Linked DNA regions of Homo sapiens: all the other regions are linked to region 1. Evidence: promoter capture Hi-C in 16 types of primary human blood cells and fetal thymus (Javierre and others, 2016). All regions are on one chromosome and are shown on one strand. Each heading gives the region's core, a stretch centred on a gene start or on the middle of the fragment in contact. The rest is flanking DNA. Distances are from core to core; before and after follow the strand shown.

What was found. The method cuts DNA at HindIII sites, captures the fragments that hold promoters and counts their contacts. A CHiCAGO score of 5 or more calls a contact.
Region 2: a contact is called between a fragment that was not itself captured here and the fragment with the promoter of CHST7 in region 1, in 1 of 17 cell types (neutrophils). The highest score is 5.5, in neutrophils.
Region 3: a fragment that was not itself captured here is called in contact with the fragment with the promoter of CHST7 in region 1 in 2 of 17 cell types (neutrophils and monocytes); the score reaches 8.7 in neutrophils.

Annotation. Positions count from the first base shown.
Region 1 is chrX:46,572,148-46,575,996 of GRCh38, reverse strand. It overlaps CHST7 (carbohydrate sulfotransferase 7), which reads right to left and starts at 2,232. Exons shown (of 2, transcript NM_019886.4): 1 at 574-2,232. The coding sequence starts at 2,065. The coding sequence ends at 605. RefSeq lists silencers at 985-1,044, 1,165-1,214. The HindIII fragment of the contact is 5,347 bases long and covers 1-3,849 here.
Region 2 is chrX:46,650,215-46,654,382 of GRCh38, reverse strand. It overlaps SLC9A7 (solute carrier family 9 member A7), which reads left to right. Exons shown (of 17, transcript NM_001257291.2): 8 at 669-774; 9 at 2,979-3,067; 10 at 3,160-3,273. Among named protein-coding and RNA genes, the nearest start is that of CHST7, 79 kb to the right of the region's middle. The HindIII fragment of the contact is 3,331 bases long and covers 501-3,831 here.
Region 3 is chrX:46,687,516-46,691,648 of GRCh38, reverse strand. The region is part of intron 1 of SLC9A7 (solute carrier family 9 member A7); the gene reads left to right. Among named protein-coding and RNA genes, the nearest start is that of SLC9A7, 70 kb to the left of the region's middle. The HindIII fragment of the contact is 5,375 bases long and covers 1-4,133 here.

The sequences.
Region 1 (3,849 bases), core at 983-3,482:
GAGCCTGCGCATAAAACAGACAGAGAAGAAACATGAAACAGAAAGATTAGGGATAGGTAGGGTTAGAATCAATGCCTTTCCACCAAACTCTCTGCTTTTGGCTTTCTCTGTGCCTGTAAACACCATTGCAAAGTCTCCTCACAGGACAAACTGGCATCAAGATAACTCCATAATCATCAACCTCAAATGGTTTCCGAAATCCTATACTCCACATGTCAATTCCCAGTCTCACGGCTCATTATGACTGTTTCAAACCTTCTCTACTCTCCTCAGCCCTCTGAAACCTCCTACTTCATACAGGGGAATGGGAATGCAGAGACCTGGCTTCCACCTCAGTCACGCCTAAATATCCTCTCTCATCTCAGGATCTCCCTCTAAGGAGGCGCGAGGCTAAGCTGGAGATTCCGATGAATCTACCAAATTCTACGAGCAGGACTTTCCCATCCTCTTGGACCTGATCTGATAGAATGGGATCCAGCATGGTACCCTCCCCCCTACACTTCCCCCTCCCCAGGCCATTCCAGGCTCCCGGAAGACCAGTCCCGGTCCCTGCCTTGCCCCGGGCCACCTTACCCGGATCCGTGCCGGGGACAGGGATGGGAGGCTACGTGGCGCCGTCGGCATCCATCTCCAGCGGCGTCTCCCCTTCCCTGGGCTGCTCCGCGTCGCCCTCCTCTCCGCTGCGAGGGTAGGCGAGCAGACGCATGGCTGGAGCGCAGGCGGCCTCCACCTGGCGCACCTGCTCTCGGCTCAGGCGCTCGCGCCAGGCGTGCACCGCCTCCCGGGCGTCGCGCGCTGACAGGTGGAAGGGCCGGTCGGCGCCGTAGGCCGCGCCGCGAGTCATGTTGAGCGCGAAGGCATCGAGCGCTGCGAGCGCGCGTAGCCCGGAGAAGCGCAGCAGGCGGCGCAGCTGGGCGCGTGGCTGCCGCACCAGGTCCTCATAGCGCAGCCTCAGGTAGCGGCGCCGCAGCCAGGCGGGCGCGCCGCGCGCGAAAAGCAGATCGCGCAGCCAGGCTTCGCAGATCACCTCGAGCGCACCGGTCAGGAAGAAATCGGCGCGCGGCGCGGCGGGCAGCGCGCGAGACTGGCCCCCGGGGCGAGCACCCACGCCGTGCGCCAGCAGCACACGGTGGAAGCGGTCGCCCCTCTGGCGGGTGCGCAGCACCTGGATGCTCTCGCGCAGCAGTCCCTGCCTAGACTTGAGGCGCGAGTTGTGCACCGCCCTCGGGTCGCGGAAAAGCTGCACCACCTTCAGGTTGAGGCCTGGATCACGCAACAGGGGCACCAGCACGCCCAGATCGAGCAGGCGCACGTCCTTGATGACCACCACCGGGTACTTTCGGCACTCGGCCTCCAGGGCGCGTATCGCCACGGGTGGGCAGCTGCGCTCGCAGGCGGTGTCCTCGACGAGGCCCACCTCGGCCCGGGCACGGGGTGCGCCAGGACACAGTGGCGGCGAGCAGATGACCTTGTTAGTCCGCCAGCGGAAGAGGGCGGCCGTGGTAAGATTGGCCGTGTCCGGGGCGCGCGCAGCGGGGTCCCCCGGCGGCGCGTACAGCCGCAGCACGGAGAAGTCGCAGCGGAAGAGCGAACGCAGCATGTCGCGCAGCGCGCCCTGCAAGCTCTCGGCGTCGCCCGGATACAGCGCCTGCCATAGATGCCACATGGGCTCATACAAGTAGAAAACGTCCGGGTGCTGGTTAAAGAGTTCGCCCAGGAAGGACGAGCCGGTGCGCCAGGTGGCATGCACGTAGATGTGCTGCTTCTCGCGAGACACTGCCTCCCCGACAGCGCCGCTGAGGTTGCTTGGGAACCGAGGAGACTGGTTCGCGCCCCCTTCCTCGGCGGCCCGCGCCTCCGCTCCCTGCTCGCGTTCGCCGGCCGCCGCCGCCTCCAGGCTCCACACTCCCAGGCTGCGCTGCAGGCCGGGGCAGTGCTCGGCGCCCTTGTCCCCGTCGCGGCCGCCGTCCAATACGGAGGGGACGAGCAACAGCACCAGCGTGTACAGCACCAACAGCAGCGCGAACTTGCAGTACTCTCGGCGTCGCCGCCGCCGGCCCTTCATCGTTCACCGACCCTCCAGAGCGGGTCGGGCGCCAGTCTTCTCCCGTTCCTCAGAAATCCCGTGCCAGGTCCGCTCCTGTGGCCTCTCCCGGCCCCTCTGCGCCGGGAGGAGCAGAGCCGCGGGGCCGCGCATCCACAAGGGGAAACTTGGAAGGCGGTGGTGCTACTGACGGCGCCCCTGCCCTCTCGGCTTAGCAGCCGGAGAGCCGCCTATTGGCCGGCTTGGCAGCCGCCCGCCCCGCCTTTCTGCCCGCCTGGGTTCGCCCACGGCTCTGCCAGATCTGGGCGGGGCTGTAGCGGGGCTGGGACGCCGGCTTACCCAGCCAGACCCCCACCTTTCCCCAAACCCTCCGTAATGAAGTCTTCATCAATGACTTCAGGCAAAGGAGGGGCCTGTGTGTACAGAATGTACCCAGTAAAGGGCCATAGACCCCACCCGGAGAAGGTCACTGCCTCTTCTGTTTTATGTCCCCTGCCTAGCCATCGCTATCCTAGGCAGATAAACACTCGCCACTATACATCCAGCGCCCCCATCAGCCCTGGAGTGGGTGTTACTGAGTTCCGGACTGAAAGATAGAAGATTGTACGTGGCAGAGCGGTCCAGGGGGGTTGGAGATACTACTGCATCCACGCAGCACATTTCATAAAGTCTAGCCTTTGTGAAATTCTAAGTGTTGTGTTCCTTAGGGTTTCACCAGCTGATGGGCTCTGCACATTTTACCAATACTCTGGGGCCCAGTTTGGTCATTTGTAAAATGTGAATAATTCTTAGTACCCATGTACCTCCTGGGATTGCGAGATTTGGGGGTTGTTACCACAGTATAACCCAGCCTATTCTGACACCTATGAGCAAAAGACATTTACAGAATCAAAGTGGTAGAATGGTGACCTTTCTCAGGAGCTCGGTGTTTAAAAGGACCCGTAAGAAGAAATGTGTACCCAAAGATAGATGAAAAAGAGACAGGAAGTCCAACAGGCAGATGAAGACTAGAGTTACTAAAATTCAAAACAGAACCAAAAAAGATACATTTTGCTCTGTTTCATCAGGCTAATGAATAAGGAAGTGAGAGCTTCCTTTCACCAGCTTGGGGAAGGTGTTGTAAAGTTAATAAAACATAGAAAGCATATCTACTTATCTCCACCAGGGGAAGGTGTTCAAATTGGAAGAGTGAGAACATATGCAATGCTCTCCACTGGTCTTTTTCATCACGGAAGCTACTCCACCTGTGAAACCACTGACTCAAGCATTTCGTTTTCTTTCCACAATTCCCCTCTTCTTCCAGCCAGTTGTTCAAATCTTCCCTATTCTCCAACCTCCACTTTTTGACCACCACCCCCACTTTCTTCTCAATTTTTCATATTCAGCTGAAAGATGCCATACCATTATTTTAATAACACTCCCTCCAATAAGCTAAACTCACGTGCCCTCTGCCTTTTCATTACTCATCTAGCAAAATCCCCCAAACCCTGCTTTTGGCTTTCTCTGTGCCTGCAAACACCACTGCGAAACATTTCTCCACAGGTGTGAGCCAGGCACAGTGGCTCACGCCTGTAATCTCAGCACTTTGGGAGCCCACAGAACAGATCAGCATCAAGATAACCTCATAATCATCAACCTGAAATGGTTGCTGAAATCTTAGGTTCTTCATGTCACTTCCCAGTCTCCAGTTCCATTATGATGATTTCAAACCTTCTCTAGTCTCCTCAGACTTCTGATACCCCTCTTCCCCCACCCACCTCTTCTCAGCACATGACCTTACTGCCTACTTCATAAAGAAACCATGT
Region 2 (4,168 bases), core at 917-3,416, 78 kb before region 1:
TTGACGGAGTCTCACTCTGTCACCCAGGCTGGAGTGCAGTGGTGCAATCTTGGCTCACTGCAACCTCTGCCTGCCGGGTTCAATTGATTCTCAACCTCCTGAATAGCTGGGATTACAGATGCGTGTGACCACACCCGGCTAATTTTTGTATTTTTAGTAGAGACAGGGTTTCAGTATGTTGGCCAAACTAGTTTTGAACTCCTGACCTCAGGTGATCCACCTGCCTCGGGTCCCAAAGTGCTAGGATTACAGGCATGAGTCACCACACCTGGCCTACATGATTAATTTTTTAAAATTGTGGTAAAATATAGCCAACGAGATTTGTCATTTAACCATCTTTACGTGCACAATTCCGCATTCACAATGTCATGTAGCCATCTCCCTGTCTACTTTCAGAATTTTTTCATCATCCGAAACAGAAGCTCTGTACCCATTAAACAATGTCTCCCTGTTTCTTCCTCTCTCCAGCCCCTACAAAACTTGTGTTCCACTGGAAAGCTTAATTTGTATTACTTAAGAAATCTCCAGCAGCTTTAGAGCCTCCAAAAAAAAAAAAAGGTTGAAGGGAAAGGCTAGCCCTTTGGGGAGGGGTCCTGGGCTAGTGGAGTATGGTTCTTGGTGGCCCTGATACATGTACCTGGAGACAGGGTCCTTGACAGAATGCCAACGTGACTAAGTTTACCAAACTGCACTGCTTCCCCCTGCTGGAGACGGCGCTGTTCTTCCTCATGTCCTGGAGCACGTTTCTCTTGGCAGAAGCCTGCGGATTTACAGGTAGGTTTTTTCTACTCTTGGACCACCCTTCCCCTCACTGTAGTGGGGTCTGTGGGAACTTGAAGGAAGGGAAGAATTCTTAGATAACAGCTGCACAGAGTTTAACTGTTCAGCAAGTGTCCGTATGGAGGATTGCTGAGCAAGGCTATTGTTCTGTCTTAAATGGATTATTTACTTTCCAAAAAGCTAGACTTTTTTTAATTTTATTTTTTTAGAGACAGGGTCTTGCTGTGTCACCCAGGCTGGAGTGCAGCAGCACAATCATAGCTCACTGTAACCTCGAACTCCTAGGCTCAAGGGATCTTCCCCCTTCACCCTCCCAAGTAGCTAAGACTACAGGCACGTACCACACCCAGCTAACTTCTTTATTCTTTGTAGAGATGGACAACATTTGCTATGTTGTCCAGGCTGGTCTCAAACTCCTGACCTTAAGTGAACCTCCTACCTCAGCCTCTCAAAGCACTGGGATTACAGGCATGAGCCACCATGCCCAGCCTGAAAAAGTAGATTTTAATGATAAAGTTTATCATTCCAAAGTCAATTACATTTTTGAGTACTCATTCTAACTGTAAGTAGATGTTAAGGTGCAAAGAATCTATTAAAATTTTATTTGTATATTTCCCTTGATTGCTATGTTATTTTGCAAACAGTAGCAATAACAAGCAAAATATGTGTCCTTTAAAGGGTGATTTTGCCTCTGCTCAGATGAGTGTGAACACGGTTTTTCATTGTTTTGTTTCTGGGCTATTTAATCATTGCTTTTCAATATCACATTTTTATGGTGTCAGTTTCATATAGTATTAGTGAGGTGAAACATGTGGTTTTACTTCCTCACATTCTTTCATTTTAAAAAAACATTGAATTTTTCCATTAGAAAATTCAAGTACAGTTCTGTACATAATCCAGGTACTTAGGATGTACTTTTGTCACCCTTTCAAAATACTGTAGCAAATCTTTATATGCAGCATTACAAAATGCCCCACTTCCTTAAAATTTAACAGTTATCTGTAAATGTGTAGGCAAAGTCCCAGGTGTGTCATTTGTCTCGCACAACAAAATGGTTACCATTAACCAGAAATATAGAAGATCGGGGCTTGGATAAATGGAATAGTACTCTTGATCTATTTTGTCTAAAGCCCTAGACTGTGAAAAAATCTAGGCCAGGCACAGTGCGCATGCCTATATAATCCCAGCACTTTGGGGCCAAGGCAGGTGGATCCCTTGAGCTCAGGAGTTCAAGACCAGCCTGGGCAAGATGGAGAAACCCCATCTCTACAAAAAAATACAAAAATTAGCTGGGTGTGGTGGTGTGCATCTGTAGTCCCAGCTATTCAGGAGGCTGAGGTGGGAGGATCACTTGAGCCTTGGAGATAGAGGCTGCAGTGAGCCGAGATCATGCCACTGCCGTCCACTGAGGGATATATAATATATAATCCACTTTGTCTCAAAAAATATATATGTATATAAAGCATTAGTTTGAAATTCAGTTCATTCATTCTAAAAACAGTGAGGAATATGGCAAAAATTTGGATGGGCCCTCACAGTCTCTTTGAAGGAATGAATGCTATATGCCAACTACAGATGGTAGTTGGAGGAGTTTAGAGGAGGCAGGAGATACCCTTAAAACTGGAACAAGGAGGGGATGTTGAGGTACTTGGCTTTGAAGGAAGGCAGGGTTGGGAGACACAAAGGTTGAGAGGTGAGGGGTTGTAGGAGTGTTCAGTAGTAATAGGAAACTTTTTTTTCTTTTTTTTCTTTTTCTTTTTTTTTTTTTTTCTTTTGAGAAAAGGTTGCCTTCTGTCGCCCAGACTGGAGTGCAGAGGCGTGATCATGGCTCACTGCAGCCTCGACCTCCCAGGCTCAAGCGATCCTCTCACCTCAGCCTCCCTAGTAGCTGGGCCACAGGCCCACGCCACCACATCCGGCTAATTTTTTGTATTTTTGGTAGAGATGGGGTTTTACCATGTTTCCCAGGCTGGTCTCAAACTCCTGGGTTCAAGCGATCTGCTTGCCTTGGCCTCCTGCAGTGCTGGGATTACAGGTGTGAGCCACTGCGCCCGACCCAGCAATAGGAAAGTTTCAAAAATATTCAGGAAGTTGGATATGCTAGGCTTGCCTACCTTAACTTTTTGTTCTAGCAGGGTTTTTTTTTTCCCCTGCCTCTTTTTTTTCCATTGATTTTTTTTGGGGGGATGTTTTAACAGGTGTTGTAGCTGTCCTTTTCTGTGGAATCACACAAGCTCATTACACCTACAACAATCTGTCGGTGGAATCAAGAAGTCGAACCAAGCAGGTGAGAGAGAGGCTTGGTACTCACGAGTTGCTTGTTAACACAGGGAAGGGGGAACTGCAGGGTTACAGCTTCCTTTTCCCTTCTCTGTGCAGCTCTTTGAGGTGTTACATTTCCTGGCAGAGAACTTCATCTTCTCCTACATGGGCCTGGCACTGTTTACCTTCCAGAAGCACGTTTTCAGCCCCATTTTCATCATCGGAGCTTTTGTATCCTTTTCTTGTTCCACCATTTTCTACATGCAGAGACGACCACTGTTGGAGAAGCTATAGTAATAATAGTCATAATAATAATATAAAATAACAATAATATAATAATATAAACCATCATAAAATAATAATTACTATTTCTGTTTTGGGTAGGTGACTAACTCCATGCTAGTTCACAGGGTTTTTATGATGAAAAAAAGAAGGCTTAAGTGGCATTTCATAACACTAAATGTATTTGATTTAAAGGACTGCATGTATTCCAAGATCATCCTTTCTGCCTTTTCTATGTAAGATGGCCTTTCTGTTAAACTGGTGCTCGGCAGGTGATTGTTTTGTAAAGTGCTCTTCTTGGTGAATCTAAAAGTCAGCAACCATGTCAGTCTCCAGTGTTATTTTTGACAATTCATTGCTGTATGAATTCCAATCCAGGAGGTTCCCTGATTTGGATGACCCAAAGGTTCTGTTCCTCTTGCTCATGACTACGTCTGCAGTATGGGCAGCCCTTCCTCACACTGCCCAGGGTTGCCTGCAGGCAGTGACCCTACTTTTTCTCAAGCTTCCCTGCTGCTGCAGATCATGGTGGGAAAGACTCTTTCTCCCCGCCCCCACCAAAAAAAAAAGGAGAAGGAAAAAGAAAAATGAAGGGAAGAAAAGATAAAATAGAAAAATATTTGGTTCCTTGGTCTGGGCCCATTGTAAATGCAGTTTCTGGAATATAGACATAGTTTGGGGGATTGGCTTCTCATGTGCCTACCAGTGGATGGACAGCTGAGGGTTTTGCTCACTTGGCCTCAGATACTATGTTTTTATTAAAGTGAACTTTTCTGGGGCTTGATTTCAAGATACTGAGCGCAGTCCCCTATTGCTGGACATTCACATTTGCCTTTTCTGAGGC
Region 3 (4,133 bases), core at 334-2,833, 120 kb before region 1:
TGCAAAGGAAAATAACTAATTCTAAAGGGCTCATAAAAAGCAGCATTTGTACAGCTTTTGACAGTTTATAAAGGGTTTTGACATATGCATGTTCTCACTACATTCTTACAACAGCCCAATTTTAGAAATGAGCAGCAGAGAGGTACTTTGTGCTGGATTGTAGCTAGGTGGAAAGTGAAGTTACCTACCCAGGTCTTCTGTCACTGAATCTACCAAATTCTTCTCCATTATGCTTCCTCATTACTACCAGACAAAATAAATATATCAGGAAAAGTTGGTAAATAGCAACAAATAATGCCTTAGAATTAATTTGCTACAATATACAAAAGCAAACATTTTCAGTAAATTTTTGCTTCTTATACATTTATAAAACATGGCAAGATAACAAGCATGTAGGAATTCTGTTATTCATGCTCATGGGAGGACTTCTGGAATGACTGTGTGAGAGCTCAATAAATCTTCTTCCCAAAACACAGCAATAAAATTGGACAAAGTTGTCAAAAATAACTATTTAGTCTCTGTAAATTGATGAAAGGTCAATTAAATTGAGGAACATTTATTAAAGAAAATCTACTGAATCTTGGTAAGAATAGTAGGTGTCTATGGCATTTAAGATTGCTCCCATCCCTGCCAGATCCATGTTCTGGATGATTTATCACAGGCAGGTGGAATAGACTGCAGTGACCACCAGCTCCCATTTCTCCCACCAGCTCCAGAAATAAACCATTGTGTTTATGGTCAGTTGATTTTCAGCAAAGGTACCAAGAGAATTCACTGGAGAAAAGACCGTATTTTTAACAAATGGTGCTGGAGCAATTAGATACCCGTATGCAAAAGGATGAATTTGGACCTTAACCTGACACCATACACACTAAGTTAACTCAGATTGTATCAGAGATCTAAATGTAAGCATCAAGGCTATAAAACACTTAAAAACATAAGAAATATTCATAACTTTGGGTTAGACAAGTGTTTTTTAGATATGATACCAGAGCCACAAGCAATAAAATAAAATGGATAAATTAGATTTAATCTATCAGAGTAAAAAAATTTTGCTCTGCCAAAGACAATGTCAAGAGGCTGGAAAGACAAGCTACAGTCTGGTAGAAAATATTTGCAAATCATATATCTGACAAAGGACTTGTATCTAGAATATATAAGGAACCCAAAATGTATAAGGGAACCCAGAATATATAAGGAACCCATAAGAAAACAACCCAGTTTTTAAAATGGGCAAATAACTTGAAGAAACATTTCTCTGAAGAGGGTATTAGGATTGCCAATAAGTACACAAAAAGATATTCAACATCATTAGCCATTAGGGAAATGCAAATTTAAAGTATGGTGAAATACCACTACACACCTATTACAATAGAATGGCTAAAATGAGAGATATTGGCAATACCAAATGTGGATGAGGATGTGGAGCAACTAGAACCCTCATATGATGCTGTAGGGGACAGTGGTTAAAAAATGGTATAGTTGGGCATTTGGGTTGGTTCCAAGTCTTTGCTATTGTAAATAGTGCTGCAGTAAACATACGTGTGCATGTGTCCTTATGGTAGAATGATTTATAATCCTTTGGGTATATACCCAGTAATGGGATTGCTGGGTCAAATGGTATTTCTTTGATAGAATGGATAAAGAAAATGTGGCACATATATACAATGGAATACTATGCAGCTATAAAAAAGAATGAGTTCATGTCCTTTGCAAGGACATGGATGAAGCTGGAAGCCATCATTCTCAGCAGACTAACACAGGAACAGAAAACCAAATACCGCATGTTCTCATTCGTAAGTGGGAGTTGAACAATGAGAACACATGGACAGAAGGAGGGGAACATCACACACCAGGGCCTGTCAGGGGGTAGGGGGAAAGGGGAGGGAGAGCATTAAGACAAATATCTAATGCATGCGGGGCTTAACACCTAGATGATGTGTTGATAGGTGCAGCAAGCCACCATGGCACATGTATACCTATGTAACAAACCTGCACGTTCTGCACATGTATCCCAGAACTTAAACAAAAAAAAAAAGAACTGAAAAAAAAAAAAGGCATAATTACTTTGAGAAATGGCTTGCAGTTTCTCATAAAGTTAAAGATATGCTGCACATATGACCGAGCAGTCCCACTCTGGGTATTTACCTTAGAGAAATGAAAACATGTTCATATAAAAACTTGTTCATGGGTGTTCATGGCAGCTTTATTTGTGCCAGCCAAAAGCTGGAAAGAAGCCAGATATCCCTCAGTAGGTGAGTGTTTATACAATGGAATACAACTTAGCAGTAAAATGAGATGAAGTGTTAATTCACACAATACTTGGATGAACCTCAAAGGTGTTACGCTGAGTGAGAGAAGCCAGTCTCAAAAGGTTACATACTGCATGGTTCCATGTATTTAACCTTGCAAAGACAAAACTGTATTAATGGAAAAAACAAAACAAAACAAAACAAAACAAAAAGCAGTGGTTGCTGGGGTTAATATGTAGGATGAAGGTATCAGTGTGAAGAGATAGTACAAGAGAGTTTTGGGGGAGTGGTAGAACTATTTGGTATCCTTGTTGCAGTGGTGCTTACATGAATCTATATGTGTGTTAAAATTCATAGAACTGTACACCAAAAGAAAAAATAATTCATTGTATAACAATAAAGCAAAAAAAAAATTTTAAGACAACATCAGAGAAATTTTAAAAAAGAAAGGAAAAATATAGGTCATAGATTTGGGGAAAATATTTTCAAATTGTATTTTCAATAAGGGACTTCTATCCAGAAAACAAAAAGTTTGGGTTTTTTTTTTACCATTCAATAAGAGAACCTGAGTTAAAATATGGCAAGAGATTTGAATGACGAGACATTTCACCAAAGAAGATATACAATGGCCTATAAGCACATAAAAAGATGCTCAGCATCTTTAGGCATTAGGGAAATGCACATTAAAACTACAATGAGATACCTCTGAACATTCTCTAAAACAGGTATGATCATAAGACAATAACAAGTGCTGCTGTGCCTGTAAACAAACTATAACTCTTTTTTTTTTTTTTTTTTTGAGGCGGAGTTTCGCTCTTGTTGCCCAGGCTAGAGTGCAATGGCACGATCTTGGCTCACCGTAACCTCCACCTCCCAGGTTCAAGCGATTCTCCTGCCTCAGCCTCCTGAGTAGCTAGGATTACAGGCATGTGCCACAACGTCCAGCTAATTTTGTATTTTTAGTAGAGATGGGGTTTCTCCATGTTGGTCAGGCTGGTCTCGAGCTCCTGATCTCAGGTGATCTGCCCGCCTCGGCCTCCCAAAGTGCTGGGATTACAGGTGTGAGCCACTGCGCCCGGCCAACAAACTGTAACTCTCATGTGTTGCTGGCGAGAATGTAAAACAATACATTTTTCCCAATGTAGTTTGGCAGTTTCTAAAATATTAAACATAGATTTATCATATGACACAGCAGTTCCACTCCTAGGTATCTACTCTAGGGAAATGAAAACATGTCCACAGACTTGTATGCAAATGTTCATAGCAGCGTTATTCACATTAACAAAAAAGGGAAACAACTCAAATATTTATTGATTAGTTAATGGACAAATAAAATATGATACACTGGTACAGTGGAATACTATTTGGCAATAAAAAGGAATGAAGTACTGATACATGCCTCCAACATAGATAAACCTTGAAAACATACTAAGTGAAAGAAGCCAGACACAAGAGGCTACATATTGTATGACACCATTTATATTAAAAGTCCAGAAACGGCAAATCTATAGTACAGAAGGTAGATTAGTAGTTGCCTGGGAATTGGAGTAGGAAGCAGGAAGTGACTGCAGATGGAAATGTTTCAAAATCAGATTGCAGTGATGATTGTGCAACTCTGTGAATATACTAAAAATCATTGAATAGTATACTCTAAAATGGGTGAATCTTATGGTATGTAAATTGTACCTTAATAAAATTGCTTTTTAGTTTCACCACATATTCAAAACAAGGAACAAAAATATTTTGAATGAATTCTCCTTGAAACTAATATATCAACGAATAACACAGCTGCATAAGTAGCAGAACAAGTAGAACAAGGTATTGAAAGGGCTGTAATATTCACTCTCAAAATCCAAGTCATGTAAATTACCCCCAAACCTG